Regions from separate parts of the Homo sapiens genome. Here region 1 is linked to region 2. The links are contacts of gene promoters, found by promoter capture Hi-C in human tissues and cell types (Jung and others, 2019). All regions are on one chromosome and are shown on one strand. The core of a region is centred on a gene start or on the middle of the fragment in contact, and the rest is flanking DNA. Distances in the headings are between cores, read along the strand shown. Region 1 has its middle 160 kb from the start of RORA. Region 2 holds the start of RORA (RAR related orphan receptor A).

Region 1 (6,232 bases), core at 1,333-3,832, 160 kb before region 2:
TGAGCTCGATGTTATAATATATTAAATACCAACTCTATATGTATAAATGGCAGGAACAATTATTAATACAGAATGTTAAACTTTCTAGAATATTATAAGGGCAAAGAATAAGTGACAAAAAATTTTAACAGACTCAGGAAGATTGCTGGCTGATATAGTTTGGCTGTGTCCCCACCCAAATCTCATCTTGAATTGTAGCTCTCATAATTCCCATGTGTTGTGGGAGGGAGCTGGTGGGAGATAATTGAATCATGGGGGTGGTTTCCCCCATACTTTTCTCGTGGTAGTGAATAAGTCTCACAAGATCTGATGGTTTTATAAGGGGAAACCCCTTTCACTTGGTTCTCATTCTCTTTTTGCCTGCTGCCATGGAAGATGTGCCTTTTGCCTTCCACCATGATTGTGAGGCCTCCCCAGCCACATGGAACCATGAGTCCATTAAACCTCTTTTTCTTTGTAAATTACCCAGTCTCAGATATGTCTTTGTCAGCAGTGTGAGAACAGACTAATATACTGGCAAATAGGAAGAACATACAATAAAATAAGGATTGTTTTTAACTTTCATTTTTATTTTAATTTTATTTGTTGAATTGTTAAAGTGTCACATATAACGTAGGTGTTTGTATGTATGCTCTGTATAAAAATTAACTGGAATGGAGGCAGATAAGTTGGTGAATTCTTATCCCATATTGGAAAGATCTCAAATTTAGAACCATAAGAAGCTGGGTTGAAATTTGTTTACCACTTAATTGACGTGTTACCTTAATGACTGTTGTAAACATTTTGAGCTCTATAGAATCAGGATCAAAATACTTACCCATTGTACATATGATGATAAAGCATCTAAGAGCATACCATTCTTCAATGAGTGCCTAGCACACTTTATGGAATGAGTTATTTTCTTCAGTTATTTCCCCTTCCTGCCTCTACCCTCTTTGCTATTTATCTTTACAGTGCTTTCTCACTGTGAGCAGAATGTACTCCCTTGACTTTTGATTTGGGTTTGATCACAAAGTATACCTTGGACAAGAGAATGCAGCAGATTGTAACATTATGCCAGTTCCTAGAAGAGGCCTCAAGAGACCTTATGTGTTTCTGCTCTGCTCTTGCTCCTCTGGCATCACTGTGAGAACATGCTGGCCTAGCTTGCTATTCTCAGGAGGAGCTTTCTTAACTAAGTTGAAGAGTGGAGCTTTCCTAACAAAGTTGCCTTAGCTTAGAGCAGAGGCTCTACCACTTTCCTGTCCCAGCCAATCCACAGACACATGAGTATGCCCAACAAGGATGACCAGAGCCACCCAGATGAGCCCAGCCTACATTAGCCAATTTGCAACAAACCCCTAGAAACATGGGTTATAATAATGTTACCTATAAATTTATAAAACAAATTGTGTTAAACCACTGAGCATTGAGTTGGTTTATTACACAGCAGTCACTGACTGATACACTCATACTGGGTACCTAATAAGAACTTTTCTAATAAGAACCAGAGTTGAAAAGCTACAATGTATAAATCTGTTTACTACATATCTATTTACACCAGTTTGGCCCCTTAACTCAGCTGTCTGTACATCTATAACTGAGGCTACAGGCACCCTGTAAAAAGTGGCTAGAGATTCCTTCAGCAAACTCAAGGTTGGTCTCCAGTCTCTTCTTCTCTGACAAGGTACCCTCTGGTTCCATCATTTAGTACCTGGATTCTTCTCCTTGGCCAAGCCATGCAGACTTTCGTCTTGATCATCCAAACAGCTTGGCTTTTTTACTTTGATTGCTGCTGGACACACTCTGTCTCATGGTATTCACCTTTATCCCGAGTTCAGGGGGCTCATTGCACCACATCCCCATATTCAGCCGAAGCCCTGGGATACAAGTTCTGAATTCTCATTTGTCTATGAAGAAAGGCTGAGCAAGAAGTACCCATAAGATAATGGCTTAAGCAGCATTCTCATTGTAACCTTTGTTAAAATCACTTGGCTAAACAATTCTTAATTGTGGTCTGAGGGCAAAGCAAGGCATTTAATAGTCATATCAAAATTCTCCTCTCAGGTAAGTGGGAGCACAGAACAGTAGAATCCCAGAAGCTTGTAATGGGCAGAGGGTATAGGGAGACTTATCTTTGGGTCTATAGGGAATACAAAAGAAGATGGCCCAAGAGGCGACCTTCATTAGTGAAATCAAAATCAGAAGCCAAGTAGACAGTTCAACTGAAATGTTTATATGTGGGATATGAGCCAGGAGGCAGAATCTAGGGTTGAAGTAACAGGTCAGAAACCAGGAACCCCAGTCCGTATGAGAATGAAAAGATTTCTACAGGAGATGGAAACAGATCCTGGAGAACTTCTTTAAACTCTTCATGGAGCTCCTAAAGGCTCAACTGTGGCTGGAGAAAAAGCCCCCCATGTCACATGCCAACCCCAAATGCACCTTCAAAGAACTAGAAACTGACTAGTCATTACTGTCAGAAGATCTCTAACAGCTCTTGGCTGTGTGTATAACACAAATTCAAAAAGTGAGTCCCATCTAACCACCTTTCTCCCAATTATCCCAATCATTCTACAGTAGAAAAGGGAACAGAACAACTGCCCTAATTCACCACACCCTGGAGACAGCTGAGCTTTCTCATTTCCCAGGGATCCCATGGGTGCAGGGAGATGTAGTTGACAGTGGAGAGAATTGCTATCGATATACAAAGAAGTTGTTTCTATCTGGCCACGGGGCATGTGAAGTCATAGAATTTTAACATAGAGGTGGGAAAAGGGATGGGGAGGATTAGAACACCTAGAATGAATTAATCTTCCAAAGGTGGAATTAGTGGAGACCCAGGTATGGATGTAATTTCAAATGTCTAGTAAATCTTTTCACCCTTCAAAAATATCTTGCATCTCTGCCTTAAGTAGTATCATTAAAGATCCATTTACTTGGTTAGAAGAATACTTTAAATATTTCTCTAAGAATATTATTATACATTTGTCCTTGGGAGAGATAAGAATCAGAATCGAGTAAGAATCTGCTAGTCATTTAAACCTTAATGGCAATTAATTTAATAGAAAGAGGGTGGAGAAAGACAGACAGACCTAGTGGAATTTCATGGAGGGTATCAGAGGCCCAACCCCTGGCTGTAAAAAGGATGGGAGGGAGGGTAGGGACTAGGAGACAAAGTAGAAGTGAGAGAAACACAAGAAGTGAGAAAAACACAAGAAGTGAGAAACACTTTACATACTTAATAACTAGAATGGTGAAAACAAATAGAAGAAAAGGACAAGCCAGGGTTCTAGCGTCTTCCCCAGTCTGCTTAGAGGACCAACTAAATTTACATTGGTAGAGCATCTAACACAAGGCTACACACACACAGGGTATCTAATAAATGACCATTATCATTACTTTTATTATTATAAGTAGCTTTTATTTTCCTAAGGAGATGCCTCTGTTCTGAAAACAAGTGCCCAGAGACCAGTCTTTGAGGGTCAGGTTCTCAATCTCTTAACCTCTTTTACACCTACTCTTCAATCCTCATTCTACCCAATCCTCCTGGCCACCAAGTCTGCTGCCCATCTCCCATGTAAGCCCTCCCTTGCCCCACCTCTCATTTGGATCTACCATCTGGTTCCATGGTCTTTTCTTCTTGTCTGTTTTTCTTTTAGTTCCTTTGTTTAGTTTACAGACATAACACCCTTCCGAGAATAAACCATCCTCCAGACTCTCCTACTATATACGGTTCCCCTTAGGCAGACCTTTCTAGTCCGTCCTGAACTCAAAGGAACAACCTTCATGGAAAGAAACTTGTACATTTGGGAAACCTGAATGTGAGACCTGGCACTGCCTCTTGGTAGCTCTATGACCTTGAAAACTCACTTATCATCTGTAAGCCTCAATTTTCTTATCTGTAAAACTGGGATAATGTTTCCCACCCTGTCTATTTATTCAGCATACAACCCAGGTTTATTGACAACAAGTAATGAGGACACTACAGTGAATAAAATATAGGAATGATCCTTCTCTGCACAGAGCTTACAGTCCGGGGGGATTCAGACATTAATCGAATAATATAAATAAACATAAAATAATAAATTTGACTTACAAATAAAGATAAAATATTAACTGTGGCAGGCACTGTGAAGAAGGGATGTTGGGCATATAATAGAAAGATTTTATGGAGTAATGGAATCAGGGAAGATTGACTTTTCCTGAGGAAGTGAAGCTTGAATTAGCGTTTGAAGGTCAAATACAAGAAAACTGAACCAAAAGAAGTAGAGTACTCTGAGCAAATGGAACAGCATATTCAAAGGCCTCATGGTCATAAAAATATAGTGGTCTTTGTGATGCCCTTGAAAAATCAGAAAAATACGCCCCTTTTTTCCCCAGACACTTTATTGCTAGCTGCCAGAAGATTGTTGAATTCTTGGATGTGCGTGATGTTAACTGATGCCCCTTAGTGTTGTGCATTGCAAAACCTGCAAAACGGTATAAGACAACTCCAATTTAAGAAACGGAAGAAAGAAAGCCTGACCGGGCGCGGTGGCTCATGCCTGTAATCCCAGCACTTTGGGAGGCCGAGGCGGGTGGATCACCAAGTCAGGAGATCGAGACCATCCTGGCTAACATGGTGAAACCCCATCTCTACATAAAATACAAAAAATTAGCCGGGCGTAGTGGCGGGCGCCTGTAGTCCCAGCTACTCGGGAGGCTGAGGCAGGAGAATGGCGTGAACCCGGGAGGCAGAGCTTGCAGTGAGCCGAGATCACGCCACTGCACTCAGGCCTGGGCAACAGAGCGACAGACTCTGTCTCAAAAAAAAGAAAGAAATGAAAGAAGGCCCATGTGGCTCCACCTGGAAGAGTGAAGGAAGCATGATGTCACATAAGTCAGGAAAGAAAGGTGGTGGTCATGCAAAGGAATCTTGTCTTTATTCTAAAAGTTTTAGGAAGTCACACTATCAGATCTTCATTTTTCAAAGAGTACTGGCTACTGTAGAAGTCTTGGGTTAGAGTAGAGTCAAAGGGGCTGCAAGTAGATAAATTTGGAGGTTACTACAGTCACTCAGAATATGATGGTGGGAGTTTAACTGGGGTGGTAGTAATGTTGGAGAGATAATTAGACAAATCAAGGCCATATTTACCTGGTAAACTGACAGGACTTGGTTTTGAAATATATAAAAAGATAAGGAGATGAAGGTTTTCAGAATGGTCTCCATACTTTCTGGTAGATGAATGGTAGTCCCATGCACTGTGGAGCTGTCAAAAACATAAGGGGTCTGAGCTTTTACCTTACTTGGAAGCTAATATGTTAGTCTGCCACAGTTTTATGGATGCTGGAAGAAGACATGAGACTGTGATTCAGAGATGAAGAACTTTATTACTCATCCCAGAGCAGGCAGTATGAGCTTCATGTTTGCATCAGTTTCCCATGCCCCCAAGTCCCACGGGGATTCACAGAGTGGCTAAGGTGCATGCCATACACACAGTGGCTTTGCATCACAGCTGAGGAACTCCAAGCTTAGGAAGCCCAAATCTTTTATAATGAGCTGTATGAAAATCTGCCCGTTGCCCTGGAAGACAACATAATCTTTCTTACACTGAACAGTGAACAAATCTGCTCTTTGTTCCAGAGGTTGATGCTCCTGATAAAAACATCCTTAATGAGACAGTCCACCAAAAAGGCTGTCAGTGCGTTTGCTTACAAGATGTACAGAAATATAAGACATCCATGGGAAATTGTTTCACAACAATGAAAAACCATGACAAAAACCATGAAGTTTTCTGTCTAGCACAGAGGATTTTATGTGAATCAAACAATACAACATTTGCTAAATTGCCTGCAAAACTATAAAGAAGTAAGCCTTGGTAACCACGTCACCATATTTTCTTAGTGAAGTCATAGTATTTGTTTCATTTGAAGTTTTGCAATCAACAAAAAGGAAAACAGAACAGGAGGGGAACTGACCTTTGGTAGTAGGGGAATTATTGGGAACTCTCCACATGGTAGGTCAAATGCTAGGATATAATTTCTTATTTAGTCCTCACAATCACATTATGGAGTTGACATTATCCTCATTTTATGGATAAGGAAACTGAGATTCAGAGGGTTAGTCCATTTTCTCAAGGTCACTCTTTAGGTAAGTGATGAAGCAGGCATTCAACCCCATGTGTGTATGTTCTTTATCACTGTGTTACACTGTATACCATTTTGTTCCTCTTATATACTATGTTACATTTTATGAACATCATTTCATTTG
Region 2 (6,398 bases), core at 3,126-5,625:
AGTTGGGCGTTGACTTCAGGCAGTCTGAAGCCGTCAGTCACATCATGCCACCGATTAGTTGTGTGGCCTTGGGCGAGTCACTTTTCTTCTCTATATTTTCATTTCCTCACCTATAAAATGGGCATGGGTGGAGTGGATCATCCAGGGTGGACACTGCATGTTTCAATCTTCGTCTTTATTTCCTCATGTCTGGCAAGTCTGGCTCTCCTGTTACCACCCAGGAGGACATCAGGTTCACATCACTGATTCTCTGGCTGCTTCTTACCCTGGACTTTACCAGCTGGGGGACAACTTAATGACAAGCAGTGAGATGGAGCCCCTCCCATGCCCAAGAGCAGTGCTGCATTTTCATTGGTGTGTCTTCTATTTTCTGCACATAGCCCAGCTTCAGCTTCTGGATGCTTTCTTGAAAGAAGGAAAACTTGTTGTCTGGGCACTCAGTTTTAATTTTCTGTCTTCTTTGTTCTTGTGCATGTTGTAGAAAGCTCCATACTCCCAAGGAAATTCTACTGTATATTTCCATCATTTCCCTTCTCTCCCTCTCAAGAAATGCAAGAAAATAACTGTCAACTTTTTTTGCATATATAAATTTTAACAGCACATACATGCTGATGAATCTTTTATCCAAGAAGGAAAGGCTTATTTCAAGTGATTGAAAGTTGAAATGCTTAGGTTTTCATTCTTGTTGGATAATGGAATTACCGTGTGGACATGCTACTTTTTGATGACTTCATCAACTGCATTTCCCAAATCCAGTAACTGTAATGAATGCCTACTATGTGCAAAGGCACAGTCCCTGTTTTTAAGGAGCATGTCTTCCACCAGGGAGGAAAAAGCAAATGTTCAAACAACCACAATACAAGGTAGATTGAGCAGACCAAATGCCTTAGGAGGGGTGCACAGCACTAAGATAGTTAAAATATTTGGTTTGGGGTAAATCAGGGAAGGCTCCACAGAGGAGCTGTCATTTAGAATTAACTTTGAAAGGAAGGTAGATTTCAGTAAACAGAGAAGGCAGGGAGGGCCTTTAGGGAGAAGAGGCAGAGGCAACTATCTATGTATCATGGACTAGAAGTAGGAGGGGGAGCAGGCAGCAGCATGTGGCCTGGCCTGAGTACTGCACATGGATTGTGGAGATTACATAAGGATGTAAGACAGTTTGACAAACTCCTGCCAGGAGTGTCACACTCCCTATCCTCCACCCATGGGAGATAACATAAATCAATCACAGCCCACACCTTTCCACATGACGAGATCGACTTGCCATCCTTGGTATAGGAGTGCAGAGATAGGGAGATAGAGCCTTCAATACCGCGTTGACTAGTTAGTTGTTAATTGCATGGGCAATGGGGAGCCATTAAAGTCTTGTAAGTAGGGGAGTGACATGGTGGGAAATGAGAGCTGTAGTTCAGGGTAATTAACTTGGCAGTACTATCTGGAATGGATTAGAATGGTTATAAGACTGAAGGCCAGTTATTTAAGAGGTTACTGAGATGGTTTAGGTGAGCAATAATGTCTGGAACTGCATGGATGGCTGCAGAAAGGAGGGGCATATGTCATGTAGGTAGAATTTGTAGCACTTGGCAAGCATGTTAGGATGTGGAGAACTAGGGGCAGGAGCAAAAGAGAGGAGTCAAAGTTAACTTTGAGGTTCCCAGTAATTACCTTAGAGTAGGAGAAAAGTAATGTTACCATCAGGAGAGGAGCCTGGGATTGGCAAGGAGGTAGGGGGCGATGGCTGTGGTGTTGCAAAGAGGAGTTACAAAAAAACTGAAATTAGGCTGATCTCTTCCACAAGCATAGCTTTTCTAAGCCATTTTCAGGGAACTCGGTGCAAAGTAAAATAACCATTTTTAAGCAAACACTGTTGCCCTTTGTCAATGAGCAGAGTCTAAGGAAGGCTCCCATCTCTTCAAATATTTGGAAAATTGGAAAGCCTTAATTAGTAATCCGAAAGGGAGCATGACGGAAGGAAAGAAATATAAACCTAATCACTGTGCTTTTCAGGTTTCAAATGCTTCCCCAATCCAGGTAATTTACACTTTAGTCACAGTGATTGACAGTCAAGGAATGTATCTAACTCACTTTTATTTTTTCCCTTGGGGAAAGCACTTGAGTTCCCAATTGTTTTAAATTGCAGAAGCAGTAATTGTCTTAGAGAGTTAGGAGAAATGGCTTTTTGGAGCTGCGATCTTTTTCTGAAGGGAATATAGAGTCTATTTTAATTGATTCAGGTCATTATGACTATTTTCTAGATGGTCTTTTCAGGGTGACTAAACATCACCTTAGTTAAAGGAGAACAGTAAGAAACTCATTAAAGGTCCAAGGGGAACAGACTTAATAAAAAATGTTAACAAGTTGCTACTGGTACCTAAAAGGAAACCAGGGATACTTTTTAAGTCACTTGCGTCCCAGATAGAATTACTGGTGAAATTTAATGTGACGAGTATTTTTTAAAGTATTCTAAAATAAACATGAGGCAGCCAATGTATTCTGAGATGCTCACTGTCCCAGAGGAAGTTGTTTCTTAAACTGTACACTTTGATATATTTGTTTCCTTAGAAAAGTCAAGTGTAACAAGCTAGGTCAATTGCATCAAGAACATTACTAACAGGCTAACCAATGGTAAATGTTGTGAAGGCTACTCTGGAAATCTGTGCTTTCACGTATGGGGAAACCCACACGTCTGATTTGGGATGGAGGAGACAATTGTGCATTGTTTGTAGGCGCCAACAGACAGGCTAAAGCCAGGGATCCTTGCAGAGACAGGATTAAGGTATCAGGACTGTTCACATCTCATTTACATCACCCCGAAGAGTGGACCACAGGTTTTGCTGATTAGTACACAGACTATGGCAAAGGGCATTGTGTATTTGAAATAAGATCAAGATCAGTAACAGTAACAGAAACTATGTGTGAAATTTGGCATATGGCGGTTCCTCTGAAGGATTAGCTAACTGGGTTTCCCGCACTTACTATTTTTTAAAGCATTTTTCCAAACCAGGAAGTTAGCAAAAGAAAAATGTCCCCCAATTCCCTCCGCCTACCCCACGTTCTGAAGCACATATATTTATGCCACCTTCTGGCCTCTAATAATATTATTTATTGTCAAAATTTTGGATCCTTTTGAAAGGAAGGTGGGGCGTATTTCCACAGTGTCTTCGCAGGCAAAAGAAAGTGGTAGATTGAGTATGAAGGCAGACAAATCAGGCTACTACCATTGGAGTATTTTCCATTCTTTCAATTTGTATTGTTCCTTCATCTTGGAGTTTGCAGTCAAGGTAACGATGATGCAATTATCTGCTTTCCTGGAGTTTTAGGTACCTACTAGGGGATGAATGTATTTCAATGGGAGGAGGGTGTAGAATGATGCCTATAATAATACGAATTATTAGGAGCTGTTAATTATCTGAATGTTATCCGGGCATTAGTAATGCCTCTCCAGTATATCTACCTTTTATGGATGAGACTGTACATTTAATAGGAAAAGTACCAGTGGGAATTGACAATTAGCAGCCACGCTTGAGCTAGATGCAGCGTGGCATGTTTTATCCAGCTTAGATAGTTGTCGACCAAACAGGCCAAAGTTTTCTTCAGTAGAAAATGCCCTGCCAAATGGTTTCTGGATCCTTCGCGGACAAACAGCAAAGGAGCTGAAAGCGACCTCTTTCAACCATGCCAGAAACTGTCCATGGCGCTTCTAGATTCACAAAATCTGTTTTAGACACAGATGTCTTTAACCAAGATTGGAAACCCACTGGCCGTCCCATCCCAAAGTAAAAAGTGCCACGTCCTCCCATCCTCCGCCTTCCTTGGGATGTCAGCCCCGTTCTAATTCCTTTTTAGTTTCTCCTCAGCCCTCGGCAGGGCTGGCAGGGGGCTACCTGCGATTTCCCAACGTGGACGTGGACAATCGGATTTGTCTCTACCCAAGCTGGCAGCGGATGGGGACGAGTTCTGTTCCCGAGAGAGTCTCAGAAGTAGGCACGGAATCATCTCACCGATTTTAATTTCTGTCCCTGGGCTGGGGAGAGGGGAGGATTGGGGCGCGGGAGGCTCTGTTCTCCTCCTCCCCTCTTTTCCCCACCTCCCAAAATTGGCAGCCAGTCTGTGGCTCTCGGTCTGGGGTCTGGAGGGTGGGGAATGTGGGTGTGGGGGCCGGCTGGAGAAGCTCTCGCTAGCGCTGCCTGTGGCCAGACCCGCCTCTTGTCCCCTTTCGGGCGCACACACACGTCCACCCAGACACTCCGCGCGCTCCCTCGCGCTTTTGCTTGCCCGCCCGCCGCCGCCTGCTTTTTCCCTCCTGCTTTCGCCGGTCGCCTTCTCCTTCTTTTTTTTTTTTTTTTTTTTTTTTTTTTTTTTTTTTTTTTTTTGGTACCATAGAGTTGCTCTGAAAACAGAAGATAGAGGGAGTCTCGGAGCTCGCCATCTCCAGCGATCTCTACATTGGGAAAAAACATGGAGTCAGCTCCGGCAGCCCCCGACCCCGCCGCCAGCGAGCCAGGCAGCAGCGGCGCGGACGCGGCCGCCGGCTCCAGGGAGACCCCGCTGAACCAGGAATCCGCCCGCAAGAGCGAGCCGCCTGCCCCGGTGCGCAGACAGAGCTATTCCAGCACCAGCAGAGGTAGGAGGCTGGAGAGGGGCTGGGGAGGGGGCGGCGGGAGCCCGGGCGCGGAGCGGGGGGCGGCCGGGAGCGGGCGCCCGGGGCGCGGGGTCCGGCGGCCGCGCGCGAGCCTGCGGCGGCGCCCCGAGCCCGGAGGACCCCCCTCCCCTCCCCCCTCCGCCCCCCAGAAATGTTGCAAACTTTTGCAGCCCGTTCTCGGCTTGCGGGAGCAGAGTGGGGCGGGGGAGGCGGCGGGAAGGTTGACAGCCGGCGGGCTCACCCCCCTGGCTTTGATTTTTCTGCAAACACTGGAGGAAAGCTGCGTTGCCTCAATTAAATACGCTCCCCCAAAATACGGAGATGCGGGGAGTGGGGGCCCGGGAAAGAAACTTTTAAAGCGGCAGTGTCCTTTTAAGAAGGGGCAAAAAAATCTGTTTATGGCCACCCTCCTTCCGCTTTACCTTTTCTCCTCTTGACAGTTTCGGCCCTGGCTGCCCGAGTCGGGGGTGTGTTTTCGGTCCCTCTCAGATCTGGGCGGGGGGCGGGAGGAGTGAGCGACCTGGGAAGTCCCGGGGGTGGAGAGGGGGCGCTCCGGGGTCTGGGGGCGACGTGGACACCTTCTTTGGAGCACGGCGGTGCGTTTGGGATTTGAAGGAAGGGCCGAAGGAAGCGGGGTGCGGGCGGGCGAGCTGTTCGCCAAGTTGTCTGGCGGGCGCGGCGAGGGGAGATGCGCAAGTTTGCAGACCGGGGGTTCGGAGCCCGGCGCCCAGGCTGGCGGGGGGCGTGTGCGCGCCAACGCGCAGAGGGCGGCGGTCCTGTGGGGCGCTCCACGCGCATCCGGAGGGAGCGTCTACAAAAGCAAGCACCGAAACTTATTTCTGCTCTGGGAATCCTTCCCTCTCGGAGGTTCCAAGCATTTCTGCAGGAACCTGGGGATGGTCAGTGCAAGTTGTATGCTGGTTGGATAGTGCAAGCAATGTTTTCTCCTCCCCTGGCGATTTTTACTCTTCATTTTGGTGTTTGGTCTGTGTCTGCGTGTGTTGGGGGGGATGGGGGGGACTCAGTTGCTCCCTCCTTTCCTAAAGTGAGCTGTTGAGGAAAGCTCACTCTTTCTTGAAGGTATTGGAACCTGATGTGTGTTTTTCTCGAGAGTGGGGGATTATTTATTTGAATGCGCCTGGAGTTTGCAAAGAACAGGAGGAAGCTACAGCTTTAATTACTGTTGTAAATAATGTATAAATCGCGCCTGTCACTCCGGAGGAAGCGTGCTCGCGCGAGCCGCCTGGAGCTGGGGACGGAGAGGATTTCTCCAGCCCCGGCTTGGGTACCGGCCCAGCGCGCCCCCTCCTCTTGCACTCGGCTTCTGGCGGCGGTTGGGGAGGGCTGGGTAGAGGCGAATGGGGGCCCCAGGAACTGCTCCCTTCCTCTCGATGTTGTAGTTGGAGGTAGGAATATGGCTGATCATGTGCTGGCTGTTTTACAGTATCCCCCCCCCCACCTTAGCCACACCCCCTGTCCAGGCGCTTTCCCATTCACGGAATTCGAGTACAGTAAAAGCCATCAGGATGACACACGCGAAAAACATTTAATTAAAGGCGATTTCCAAAGGGTGACCGCGGCGAACCGCGGTTTCAGCGGGAGGGGGGCGGCGAGGGCTGGGACAAAAGGGAAGGGGATGAGGGCTGGGGGCCTGGACCTGCCGCTAGCTCGGTGAGTTTGTGTGCGGGGAGCTTTTGGCTGCAAAGAGTATATTTAGACCCTGAGACGGTGGATTTGGAATGCGAGCGGGTTATGT

What was found. The method cuts DNA at HindIII sites, captures the fragments that hold promoters and counts their contacts. A contact is called where the count stands out against the background at its distance.
Region 1: a fragment that was not itself captured here is called in contact with the fragment with the promoter of RORA in region 2 in 2 of the 25 tissues and cell types used here (heart right ventricle and pancreas).

Annotation. Positions count from the first base shown.
Region 1 is chr15:61,382,776-61,389,007 of GRCh38, reverse strand. No RefSeq gene overlaps it. Among named protein-coding and RNA genes, the nearest start is that of RORA, 160 kb to the right of the region's middle. The HindIII fragment of the contact is 4,527 bases long and covers 319-4,845 here.
Region 2 is chr15:61,227,279-61,233,676 of GRCh38, reverse strand. RORA (RAR related orphan receptor A) reads left to right here and starts at 4,375. Exons shown (of 11, transcript NM_134261.3): 1 at 4,375-4,624. The coding sequence starts at 4,459. The HindIII fragment of the contact is 14,135 bases long and covers 1-6,398 here.